2 separate regions of the Homo sapiens genome follow, and region 2 is linked to region 1. The links are contacts of gene promoters, found by promoter capture Hi-C in human tissues and cell types (Jung and others, 2019). All regions are on one chromosome and are shown on one strand. Each heading gives the region's core, a stretch centred on a gene start or on the middle of the fragment in contact. The rest is flanking DNA. Distances are from core to core; before and after follow the strand shown. Region 1 holds the start of MLEC (malectin). Region 2 holds the start of LINC02985 (long intergenic non-protein coding RNA 2985).

Region 1 (5,698 bases), core at 363-2,862:
CCCTCACATGTGTGAAAGGCAATAAACTCCTTAATATAACAAACTCCAGGACACTGCAATCGACTTGGGAAGAACTAACTATTTTAGTAAAAGCAAGAGCCAAATCTGGGCATCGCAGAAAAAGAATGAGAGAAAGTGAAGAGTGAGTCTGTCTCCTGGTTGTCTGGAGGTGGCATACTGCCAATTTGGTAGCCTCTGAACCCAGCATACAGTATCAATCTCCTAGCAAAGAACTTCCTTCTGAAACCTGTTTTCCAATCCCTCCAACAGAAGAAACAAAGATTATAAAGCTGATCTTCCAAAACGGTGGTCTCGGGGCAACCTACATCACAAGCCCCTGGTGCAGAAACCTGGATCCCAGCAAAAAAGCTCAATCTACTATAATCAATTTCGAGTGGGGACTAGGAATCTGCATTTTTAACCAGCTGCCCTGGCAATTCTGACACACACTAACTTTGGGAAGGGAGCAGCTCCGTTAAAAACCACTGTTGCCCAGCAAGTTAAGTCACAATCATTTTCCCCCTAAGCTGGAATTAGAACTCTCAGGATCACCTAGGGGAGGTTGTAAGCATTCTCTGATAGACCATTCGGATTCTTACACTGGTTGACCCAGTTCACACACAGCCACCAGCCTCACGTGCAGGATGGCTTCGATAGAACCACCCTCTGGGGGCGGCCTGCCGATTCTACTTTTAAGCACACATATTCTTCGCTCGAAAAGAGGGCGGGGGAGGAGGCTACAATCAAACTTTCCTGGCCCATTCTCTTCGAAGATTCCTTCCTATTCTGGCTAAGAATCAAGCCCCGCTCCTGCAGAAGGGGCAAGGAAAGCGGCCGATTCCTGGGTCGACGAGAATCTCCCAAGAACTGTCTCGACAGGAGAAGCAGGGGCACCCATGACCTACAACCCGCGAGGCCTGGAGGTAGCAAAAGGCCGCCTTCGTCATTTCTCTCCCAGCTTGGATGGGAGTGAGGGGTTGAGAAAATGCAGGATGAGAAATCCAAATATAACTAACTTCTGGCCAACTCTCTGCCTGTATGACTCTAGGTACCTTGGAGCCAGTGCCAGGCCCTGAGCTCAGAGCGGGCCCCCGAAGAAGCTGCAGAGAGAAACTTCGCTCCAGAGACGCGGCCCCAGGGTCGAAAGGGGCTCGGGGCCCGCAGCCCCCGGCCGGCTGCGCCCAGCACAGCAGGCCCTGGATCCCGCGGCTCGGCAGGGGGACTCTCACCTCGGCCCACCCGGCCTTCCAAAGGGTCCTTGCGGAAGTGGATCCCGTGCACGTCCACATGCGCCTCTCCACCCGCGTTGACCGCCCAAATGACGCTCTCGGGCAGCCCGGCCCCCGCCGCGCCGGCCACGCCGGCCACGCCGAGCCCGGGTCCCCGGATCGCCGGCGGCAGCAGCAGCAGCAGCAGTCGCAGGAGCGCCACAGCGGTTCCCTCAACCGCCCAGGCTCCCAGCATGGCGGCCACCACCACGGGGGCAGCCCCCGCCGACCCTCGTCCTCGGCCGGCTGCCAGGCCACCCCGGACTCAGAAAAACAGCGCCACGGGCCGCTCCGCCTGAGCCGCCGGGGACATGTCGCTCTCAGGCCTCCTTCTTCTCAGCCACGGGTACCGCCTCCCACCTCAGGAACAACCTACCCCGCCGCCCTGCCCCCGGCCACGACGCTGCAGCCAATCAGCGCCCGGCCCTCATTAATTACCCACCACCCCGCCGGGAGGCGCCCGCTCATTGGCTGTCAGGCGCGGGAAAGGGCGTGGCTTCTCCCAGGCGCCGGCCCAGCAGTCGGGCACCAGATGGAGCGCGCGCAGAGGGAGTGAGTTCGGTTGAAGCGGCGGTTCGATGCGGAAGTGGCGGGTGCAGCGCCCAGGCGGCCCCGGAATCCCACAGCTGAATGGGAAAGGTGGCCTGGGGGGGGAAGGTTTAGGGTAGGGCGCACTGACATGTCGCCAGCACTTCCGGTGCTCTAGCTCCTGAGACCAAATAGGCTCTGGAGGGGGCGTGGCCGACTTTCCCGCCCCCTCTTCTTTTCTCAGGGAGCAGCATGAGCATAAATTCTAGTAGGAGAAGCAATGGACACTCTCCAGACCTAAGAGACGCAGTCCTTTTCCCCGCGTGAGGGAGAGGACCCATGCTTTCCCAGAGAGGCCGCGGACACAGGTCTCCAGGGAACGAATCCCATGAGAATAAGGCCCCGCCCCCTCCCCTTAGCGGGCTCGGGGCGGGTGGTAGCGTCCAGACGGCCGTCCAATGAGAAGGCTCCAACGCAGCGGAAACGCGTGGCTTTGAGAGCGAGTGGGTGCCAGGCTGCTCGCGTCTCCATGGCGACGGCCTCTGGCCGGCCTCCGCTGCGTAGGGGCGGGACCGAGGCACCCTAGGCGCTGGCGGGAGTCGCCGCCGGCGGTGCCCAGAGTGGATACCGGGGTTGTCCCGCACGGGCACGGCCCGAACTCCCTCCCTGCTCCTTCACAGTTCACCTGGCGCTCTCCCACACTGGCGATCCCTGCGCTTCGGTCGCTGTTCAAACTCCCATTTTTCCGATGGGGAAACTGAGGCATAGAAAGGGACTGAATTTTGCCAAAGGGTCGCACCGCAAGTGTAGGGCAGAGTCAAGGCAAAAACAAAAAAAACAAAAAAACGCTTATGCATTTTCCATAAATACTGGTCGATTTAGAAATTCTCCCTAAAAGGAAAAAAATGTATCAAGTCCCTGCTACCAGGGTTGTCAGATTTGGCAGATAAAATAGGAGAAGCCCAGTTATATTTGAATTTCAGATAAGCAAATGGGACCCACTTATACTAAAAAAAAAAATGCATTGTTTATTAAAATTTAAACAACTGGACTTCTTGTATTTTATCTACCAATCCTACCTACTACTTAGGCAATGAGCTTTGTGCTACATGAACAAAAAACACACCTGGGGTCCCGCATGAGAATCATAGACTTTGCACAACCCATAATGAAATTAATTGTTTAGTTAGAACAGTGGTAAGTGCTATACGGGAACAAAACAGGGTGCCAAAATAGAGACTATCAGTGGTGGATCTAAATGCACCCAAATTCCTTCCCAGGCCCCAAATTCAGACCCCATGGGGGTAACTTTTGGAAGTGTTCCCTCCCGGTCTCACTTTCCCCCCTATTTTGCAAGCATCTGGCCTTACTTCCTCCCATAGACATGTTTCCTGTCCAAGGTGTTTCTTTTTTTTTTTTTTTCTGTCTTTTTTGGAGACAGAGTCTTGCTCTGTCGCCAGGCTGGAGTGCAGTGGTGCAATCTCGGCTCATGGCAACCTCCACCTCCCGGGTTTAGGCGATTCTGCTGCCTCAGCCTCCTGAGTAGCTGGGACTACAGGCGCGCGCCACCACACCCAACTAGTTTTTTTTATTTTTATTAGAGACCGAGTTTCACCATGTTGGCCAGGATGATCTCGATCTCCTGACCTCGGGGTCCGCGGCCTCCCAAAGTGCTGGGATTACAGGTGTGAGCCACCACACCTGGCCTCTTGGGGTTTCTAATTCTACTATTCTCTCTCTCAAACTGTCATCTTTTAAGGATCTTGACAACTCAGAGGCTTCAGTTACCCTCAAAGGAGGGGTGTGGTGCAAATGGGGAACAGAAACACAAGTAGTGGTGATGGGGCTTCCTCCCTCCAGGCAGTTGGCCTGCAGAGCCCACGTACCACTCAGGTATTGCACTGCCACCAGGCGCTCATGTTTATTTTATCCTCAAGGCAGTCTAGTCCAGGAGAAACAATCACAAAAACGGATTAAATTTTGGGGGAGGCCTCTAAAGGCTTTCTCTCAGTCCTTCGTGTCTTTGGTCACCCCAGAGGGTGAAGAAGATACCCGGCTGGCTCCTGTTATTGAGCCCTTCAGATACCATTCGTGGTTGGGCCATCTGTGTACCAAGGAGCTTGGCTCCCTTTCTGAGATCCAGCTGCTCATGAATTAGGCTGTCTTTTCAGTAAAACGTAAAGTCTGAGACCCTGGAGGCAGGGTATGGGATCCGAGCGTGGGATCTAAGACAGGCTGCCTGCATCCCATGCCTAGTCCCATTTACCCACTGTGTGGCCTTGGGCAAGTGATGTACTTCGCTGAGTTTCAGTTTCCTCAGTTGTGAAATAGAGATACAGTCATGAGTCACTTAATGACAGGGATGCGTTCTGAAAAATGCATCATTAAGCGATTTTGTCATTGTGCAGAGATCACAGAGTGTACTTACACAAACCTAGATGGGGATAGCCTGCTATACACCTAGGCTATATGGTATAGCTGATAGCTCCTACACTACAAACCTCTACAGCATGTTACCTTACTGAATACTGTAGACAGTTGAACACAATGGTAAGTATTTGCGTATCTAAACACAGATACAGTATAAACACAGTATTGGCCAGCCTAGTGGCCCATGCCTGTAATTCCAGCACTTTGGGAGGCTGAGGTGGGTGGATCACTTGAGGCCAGGAGTTCGAGACCAGCCTGACCAACATGGAAAAACCCTGTCTCTACTAAAAATACAAAAATTAGCTGGGCATGGTGGGGCGCACCTGTAATCCCAGCTATTCGGAAGGCCGAGGCAGGAGACTCGCTTGAACCCGGGAGGCAGAGGTTACAGTGAGCCGAGATCGCACCACTGCACTCTAGCCTGGGTGACAGAGTGAGATCCAGTCTCAAAAAAAAAATATATATATATATACACACACACACACACACACACACACACACAAAATTTTATTTATTTATTTATTTATTTATTTATTGTGGAGACAGATTCTCACTATGTTGTCCAGGCTGGCCTCTAACTTGTGGCCTCAAGCGGTCCTCCCGCCTTGACCTTCCAAAGTCCTGGGATTACAGGCCTAAGCCCCTGCACCCAGCCAATATTATAATCTCACGGGACCATCATCGTGTATGTGGTTCGTCATTGGCTGAAATGTTATGTAGCACATGACTGGAATACTTTATTTTACTTATTTATTTTTTGAGACAGAGTCTCACTCTTGCCCAGGCTGGAGTGCAGTGGCATGATCTCGGCTCACTTCAGCCTCTGCCTCCTGGGTTCAAGCAATTCTCGTGTCTCAGCCTCCCAGATAGCTGGGATTATAGGCATGCACCACCATGCCTGGCTAATTTTTGTATTTTTAGTAGAGACAGGGTTTCTCCATGTTGGCCAGCCTGGTCTTGAACTTCTGGCCTCAAGTGATCCACCTGCCTTGGCCTCCCAAAGTGCTGGGATTACAGGTGTGAACAACCGCACCTGGCCTGGAATAGTTTCTATTTCAGAGGGCAGACGTGAGGATTAAAGAAGGTAATAAAACCGCATGAAGAAGAGGAGGAGAAGGTGGTAATGCATATAATAAAGTCATTAGAATTGATAAAGAGCTGAAACAATTGTTTAGATACTCCGAGACCAACCACCATAGCCACATAACCAAAATTTTAGCACCTGATTTTCCAAAATGCTAACTCTAAACATAAACAAAGCACAAGAATAAGTTTTCTTCCCTTATTAGCATGATTCCACAGAATTAAACCAATCAGCCATAGACAAACCAGCTTAAGCAGCTCTATTTGCCTTTGAAAAAATATATATCAGCCAATCATGTAAAGGGTCAAAATACTTCCTCTTGTGCTACAACTGCTGTCAATTCAGACTTCTTGCCAATCTTGTAATCTCCCGATTCACAGACTCTTCC
Region 2 (5,772 bases), core at 400-2,899, 1.4 Mb before region 1:
TTAGCTGGGCATGGTGGCGCATGCCCTATAATCCCAGCTACTTGGGAGGCTGAGGCAGGAGAATTGCTTGAACCCAGGAGGCAGAGGGTGCAGTGAGCTGAGATTGCCCCACTGCACTCTAGCTTGGGCGACAAAGTGAGACTCCATCTCAAAAAAAAAAAAAAAAGAACAACGAAGAAAAAAAGAGAGTTCTTTATATGTTCTGGCTACAAGTCTTTTATCAGATACATGTTTTGCAAAGATCATCTGGCAATCTGCTTGTTTTTTCAATCTCTTATCAATGTCTTTAGCAAAAAGCTTTGCCTAACCCCAAAGTCACAAAGATTTTCTCCTGTTTTCCCCTGGAAGTCTTAGTTTTATGTTTCACATTTTGGTCTATGATCTATTTTGAGTGAATTTTGTGATAAGGTGCAAGGTATAGGTTTAATATTTTTGCACACAGATGTCCAGTTATTCTAGCATCATATGTTGGATGATTGCAGTTATTATTAACACTGTCAGTATTCTCAAGGCTCCTGGGCTCAGGGGTCAGCAATGGTACCTCTGGCTCCAACTCTGCAGTTCAGTCGCCTGCCCCATACGCCCCTCAAACCTAACAGCTGGGGCCTGTTGCAGTTCTTTGCTTGCAGAAGACTTTGTTTCTGGTCTCTTTACCTCTTCTCTCTCTTCCTGAAATCTGCATAAAACAAACCATGAAAGGGCAGGGTGGCCTCGTGGTCTGGCAACGTCCCTTTGAAAATAAACAAGTGCAGAAACTGAAAGGCAGCAGCTACCTCTGGGGACTACTCGAGAAAGAGTTCAGGGCCGGTGCATCCGCCGCGCGTGGCTGTCTTGCCCCAGCTGGGCGGCAGGTCGGATGTGGCAAAACCAAACAGGATCCCGATTGCTTCAGATGTCACCTCTGGCCAGAGACCCCCGATGCCTCTGCAGCAAGCACCTAATTGTATTTATGGGGTACGGGCAGAAGAGTTTCATGGCTGAAAAGCCCTCAACAGTTTGTACAGCCTTCCTCAAAGGTCCAGATCTAACTGGTTCCCACACAACCCTGGGAGGTGGGCAGGTCAGGGACAGTTACCTTTATCTTACACATAAGAAAACTGAGGCACAGAAGGGTGAAGAAATAGATGGGTGTGGGTTTGGAATTTTTTTTTTTTTTTTTTTGAGGCAGAATCTCACTTCATCACCCAGGCTAGAGTGCAGTGACGCAATCTCGCCTCACTGCAACCGCCATCTCCTGGGTTCAAGTGATTCTGGGGCCTCAGCCTCCTGAATAGTTGGGATTACAGGTGCGCACCACCATGCCTGGCCCTAACTTTTTTTTTTTTGAGACAGAGTCTCACTCTTTTTGCCCAGGCTGGAGTGCAGTGGAGCAATCTCAGCTAACTACAACCTCCGCCTCCCAAGTTCAAGCAATTCACCTGCCTCAGCCTCCTAAATAGCTGGGATTACAGGCGCCCACCACCACTCCTGGCTAATTTTTTGTACTTTTAGTAGAGATGGGGTTTCACCATGTTGGCCAGGCTGGTCTCAAAGTCCTGACCTCAGATGATCCACCCACCTTGGCCTCCCAAAGTGCTGGGATCACAGGTGTACCATGCCCGGCCACTCGGCTAACTTTTGTATTTTGGTAGAGACAGAGTTTCACCATGTTGCCCAGGCTGGTTCTCAAACTCCTGACCTCAAGTGATCTGCCTGCCTCAGCCTCCCAAAGTGATGGATTTACAGGCAAAAAGAAGTTTTTTTTTTGTTCGGTGGGGAGGGGGTTAGGCAAACGTTTAGCAAAAAGCTTTCGCTAACCAAAGTCACAAAGATTTTGCCAGGCCATTTTTTTGTTTCGTTTTTTTTTTAGATAAGATCTTGCTCTGTTGCCCAGGCTGGAGTGCAGTGGCACAATTTTGGCTTACTGCACTCTCCAACTCCTGGGCTCAAGCGATCCTCACACCTCAGCCTCCTGGGTAGCTGGGACTAAAGGTGTGTATCACATGCTTGGCTAATTTTTAAATTTTTTTTGGGATGGGGTTTGGCTATGTTGCCCAGGCTGGTCTTGAAATCCTGGCCTCAAGCGATCCTCCAGAATTCATAATTCTCCCCACCACCCTGGCTGGAAATATCTCAAATGTCCAAAGAATGGATAAGCACATTGTGGTACACTCATCCCACGGAATATTCTCCAGCAATGAGAATGAATGACATACAGTCTCACACAGCAGTACTGAATCTCACAAATACCATGTTGAGTGAAAGAAGCTAGACACACAAGAGCACACACTACATCATTCTGTGTATGTAAAGCTAAAAAATAAGCCAAAGAAATCGGTGCAGGTAGAAGTCAGGGTGTCGGCCACACTTCGAGGGGTAGTGACTAGACAGGGATAAGAAGGGGACTGGGGATTAGTGATATTCTGTTTATTGATGCAGATGCAAGTCATGCAGGTGTGTTCAGTGGGTGAAAAATCATTGAGCTACACCCTTACATGTTGATTAAATATTCAGGGCTGGGCACAGTGGCTCATGCCTGTAATCCCTGTAAATGCTTACAGAGGCCAAGGTAGGAGGATCACTTGAAGCCAGGAGTTCAACAGCAGCCTGGGCAACATGGTAAAATCCAGTCTCTACCAAAAAAAAAAAAAAAAAAAAAAAAGGGCCGCGCATGGCGGAATGCACCTGTAGGCTTCCAGCTACTTGGGACCCTCACTCAGGGTCTCACTCTGTCACCCAGGCTGGAGTGCAGTGGCGCCATCAGGGTTCACTGCAGCCTTGACCTCCCAGGCTCAAGTGATTCTCCCACTCAGCCTTTCAAGTTAGCTGGGACCACAGGCCAATTTATGGGCTTACTGGGAAGTAACCCCACTGTAAATTGAAGAGCATCTGTATTCAACTCTGTTGTTGCATGGTGAAAGCAGCCAGGAACAATATGTAAATGAATAAGCATGGCTTGTTCCAATAAAACTTTATTTTAAAAAAATCAGGTGGGCTGGGCATAGTGGCTCAGGCCTGTAATCCCGGCACTTTGGGAGGCCAAGGCGGGCAGATCACCTGAGGTCAGGAGTTCAAGACCAGCCTGGCCAACATGGTGAAACCCCATCTCTACTAAAAATACAAAAATTAGCTGGGCGTGGTGGCAGGCACCTGTAATCCCAGCTACTCAGGAGGCTGAGGCAGGAGAATCGCTTGAGCCCCAGAGGCGGAGGTTGCAGTGAGCCGAGATCATGCCATTGCACTCCAGCCTGGATGACAAGAGCGAGACTTTGTCTCAAAATAAATAAATAAATAAAAATAAAAAAACAGGTAGCCAGATTTGCTGATTCCTGGCCTGCTGGAAGACAGGCTGGGTTCCGAAGCCTCCTTCACTGAGTCCCTGCAGGACCCTGTCCAAGTCGCTTCCCTGGCCTGAGTTATCCTTTCTGTAAATCGGGAGGCTGATTCCCTGCTCTAAACCACCCTTCGGGGTTGCCAGGAGGTCAGATGAGCTCATCACGGAGGGAGCCCAGAGGGAGAAAAGAGCAGGATTAAGAGCCTCTTGAGGTTCTCTGATGCAAAGCAGATTGCTTTTTCTGCCTAGGTCTGGAGAGAGAAAGCCATTGACCTCAAGTCACCCAGTGCATCCATGGGTACCAGTGTCCCAGGGGCATCCTAGAGGGAGACAGGACCCACAGGCTTGGCCGCAGACCCTGGTCCTTGCCATCCCGAGGCCTCTCCCCAACCCCACCTGTGGAGAGAGAACAACAGTGAAGAGAGACTGGAAAACTGAGTCTCTAACAGGCTGTTCCTTTGAGCCCCTGGCCAGAAGCTATTTGGGTCTGTTTTAATGACTGAGCAGCCAGTGCCCAGGGCAGGGACGTGTTGTCTGACCTCCAGCCCTCTGCTCAGTCAGGCACGTCTCTCCTTCCTGTTCCCGGGTGGGCGCATCCCACAAGGCCTGACTCAGGCTGTGCCGCATCTGGAGCATGCTGTGCGGATGACTCCAGTGTCAATCACTTGGGGAAGAGGTGGGTCTTCAGAGAGCAAAGTGTAACTGAGGGCAAACCCAAGGCAACCAGGGGAGGGCCATTCTTCCCTTCCCTGTGCCTCCTGCTCTCGGAACTGGTCTTCTAAAGCTAGAGGTGCGCGAGGATAATAACTATAAAATAGCAGTTAACATTTGAGATTCACTGTGTGCCTGGGCCTGCCTTGAGCGCTTTACACGTATTCATTTAATCCTCACAACAACCCTGGTAGGCATTATTATTGTCCTCATTATACAGATGAGGAAACAGGGACCCAGAGAGGTTAAGATACTTGCCTGAGGTCACACTGCTCAGGAGTGGTGGAGCTCCGCGTGTTGAGGACTACAGAAGAGGATGCCTCATTGGTCCAAAACAGGTCCATATGGAGGAGTGGGGGCTCACGTCGGGTAAGACCCAGTGAAAACTTGCCTAAACCATCAAGGGCATTTATTGGCTCACAAATTGAGACGTTCCGGGGGTTGTGCTGGCTTCAGGGCCGGCTGGGGCCAAGGCCCAAATGCTGCCCTTAGAAAGCACACACTCACCGTCTTTCAGCCCTTTCCTGTGATGGTTTCATTCTCAGGCTGATTCCTCCCCACGTGTAAGGAAAGATGGCCACAGCCACTCCATTTGAGCAACTCCAGATGCTCCAGCAGAATTCTTTCCCACCAGTTCCCACCCAGGGCTGACTCTCACTGGGCTGCTATGGGCCACGTGCTCATCCCTGAGCCAATTGTGGTAGCCAGGAGGCGGGACCATGGTGATTGGATAGGACTGGGTCATATCACCACCCTGGGCTAAGTGCCCGCCCCACTTAAGGACGGGGAGGGAGGGAGACCCCTATGGGAAGAAGAGGGAAACAGAACTGGATAGACAAGGTCAAAGGATGTCTATCTAATCTGAGACTCTGGAGGAAACATGCATTCTTCACCCAGAGGAGCGATAGAGGGAAGTTGGACTTGGCCTTTAGGGTCTGCAGTCCATCCTCGGCCCCACCACGGACCTCTGTGACACTTGTTGCCTTAGCATGGCCTGGAACTTGGACCTGAGCCTTTTCTGCCTACCTCCCCCAGCTGATCCCTTTCCCACCCCACCTCCCTGCCTACTGACCGCCTTCACATTGCCTGGGGCCACATGGGCCCTGTTGCCAACCGCTGGCCCCCCGCTTGGCCTATTGTTCCAGTTCCCTAGTTGCCCGGCTCCCACTTCCAGTCTGGTCTTTTCCAATCCATGCTATTCATTGGCAACACCATCCCTAGTCCAGCAGAGCCTTGGCTCAGAAGCCTCCAGCCCCTCCTTTGTGTCAAAAAGGAAAAACGAGCTGCTTAGCCCCAGGCCTGGTATTCCTCCAGTGTCCTAGGAGATTCCCTGACCCTTGCCATCAGAATGTCTGTATCCCCTAATTCCAAACTGTGGTCGGCATCGTAAAGCACTGCGGCTCACTTACCTGCCTGGGGGTTAAGGGTCAAGTTTGAGTCATCGCTGCCTAGGGCCCAGCACAGCTCAACCAATGCCGGCAAAGCCTACATTTCTAGCTCCTGGGCATGAGACTGCTCCTTGATGAAGGGAGGTGGGAGAGGAAGTTAGGCGGCTCCAGTGAGAGACACAGAGGAAGTTCCACAGAATGACTGTGAGACAGTGATCTAGGCGGGTGGAGACAAGGGAGGCAGGGGGAAAGGGCAGAAGCCTTAGAGAGAGGAGGGAGGGACCGATCCAGAGAGTGAGAGCTGGGAACAGACACGCAGGGAGGGCAGAAAGGAAGCGCGGGAACGTGTGCCAGCTCAGG

The links. The method cuts DNA at HindIII sites, captures the fragments that hold promoters and counts their contacts. A contact is called where the count stands out against the background at its distance.
Region 2: a fragment that was not itself captured here is called in contact with the fragment with the promoter of MLEC in region 1 in 1 of the 25 tissues and cell types used here (spleen).

The regions. Positions count from the first base shown.
Region 1 is chr12:120,683,063-120,688,760 of GRCh38, reverse strand. MLEC (malectin) reads right to left here and starts at 1,612. Exons shown (of 5, transcript NM_014730.4): 1 at 1,230-1,612. The coding sequence starts at 1,464. LOC105370029 (a long non-coding RNA gene) reads left to right here and starts at 1,612. Exons shown (of 3, transcript XR_945449.3): 1 at 1,612-1,907. RefSeq lists silencers at 1,254-1,553, 2,394-2,493, 3,608-3,697 and enhancers at 1,308-1,809, 1,904-2,033, 2,124-2,233. The HindIII fragment of the contact is 30,224 bases long and covers 1-5,698 here.
Region 2 is chr12:122,063,193-122,068,964 of GRCh38, reverse strand. It overlaps LINC02985 (long intergenic non-protein coding RNA 2985), which reads right to left and starts at 5,675. Exons shown (of 4, transcript NR_135044.1): 1 at 5,434-5,675; 2 at 4,283-4,415; 3 at 774-937; 4 at 405-676. RefSeq lists enhancers at 4,238-4,287, 4,428-4,657, 4,608-4,902 and silencers at 4,698-4,847, 5,768-5,772. The HindIII fragment of the contact is 6,864 bases long and covers 1-5,081 here.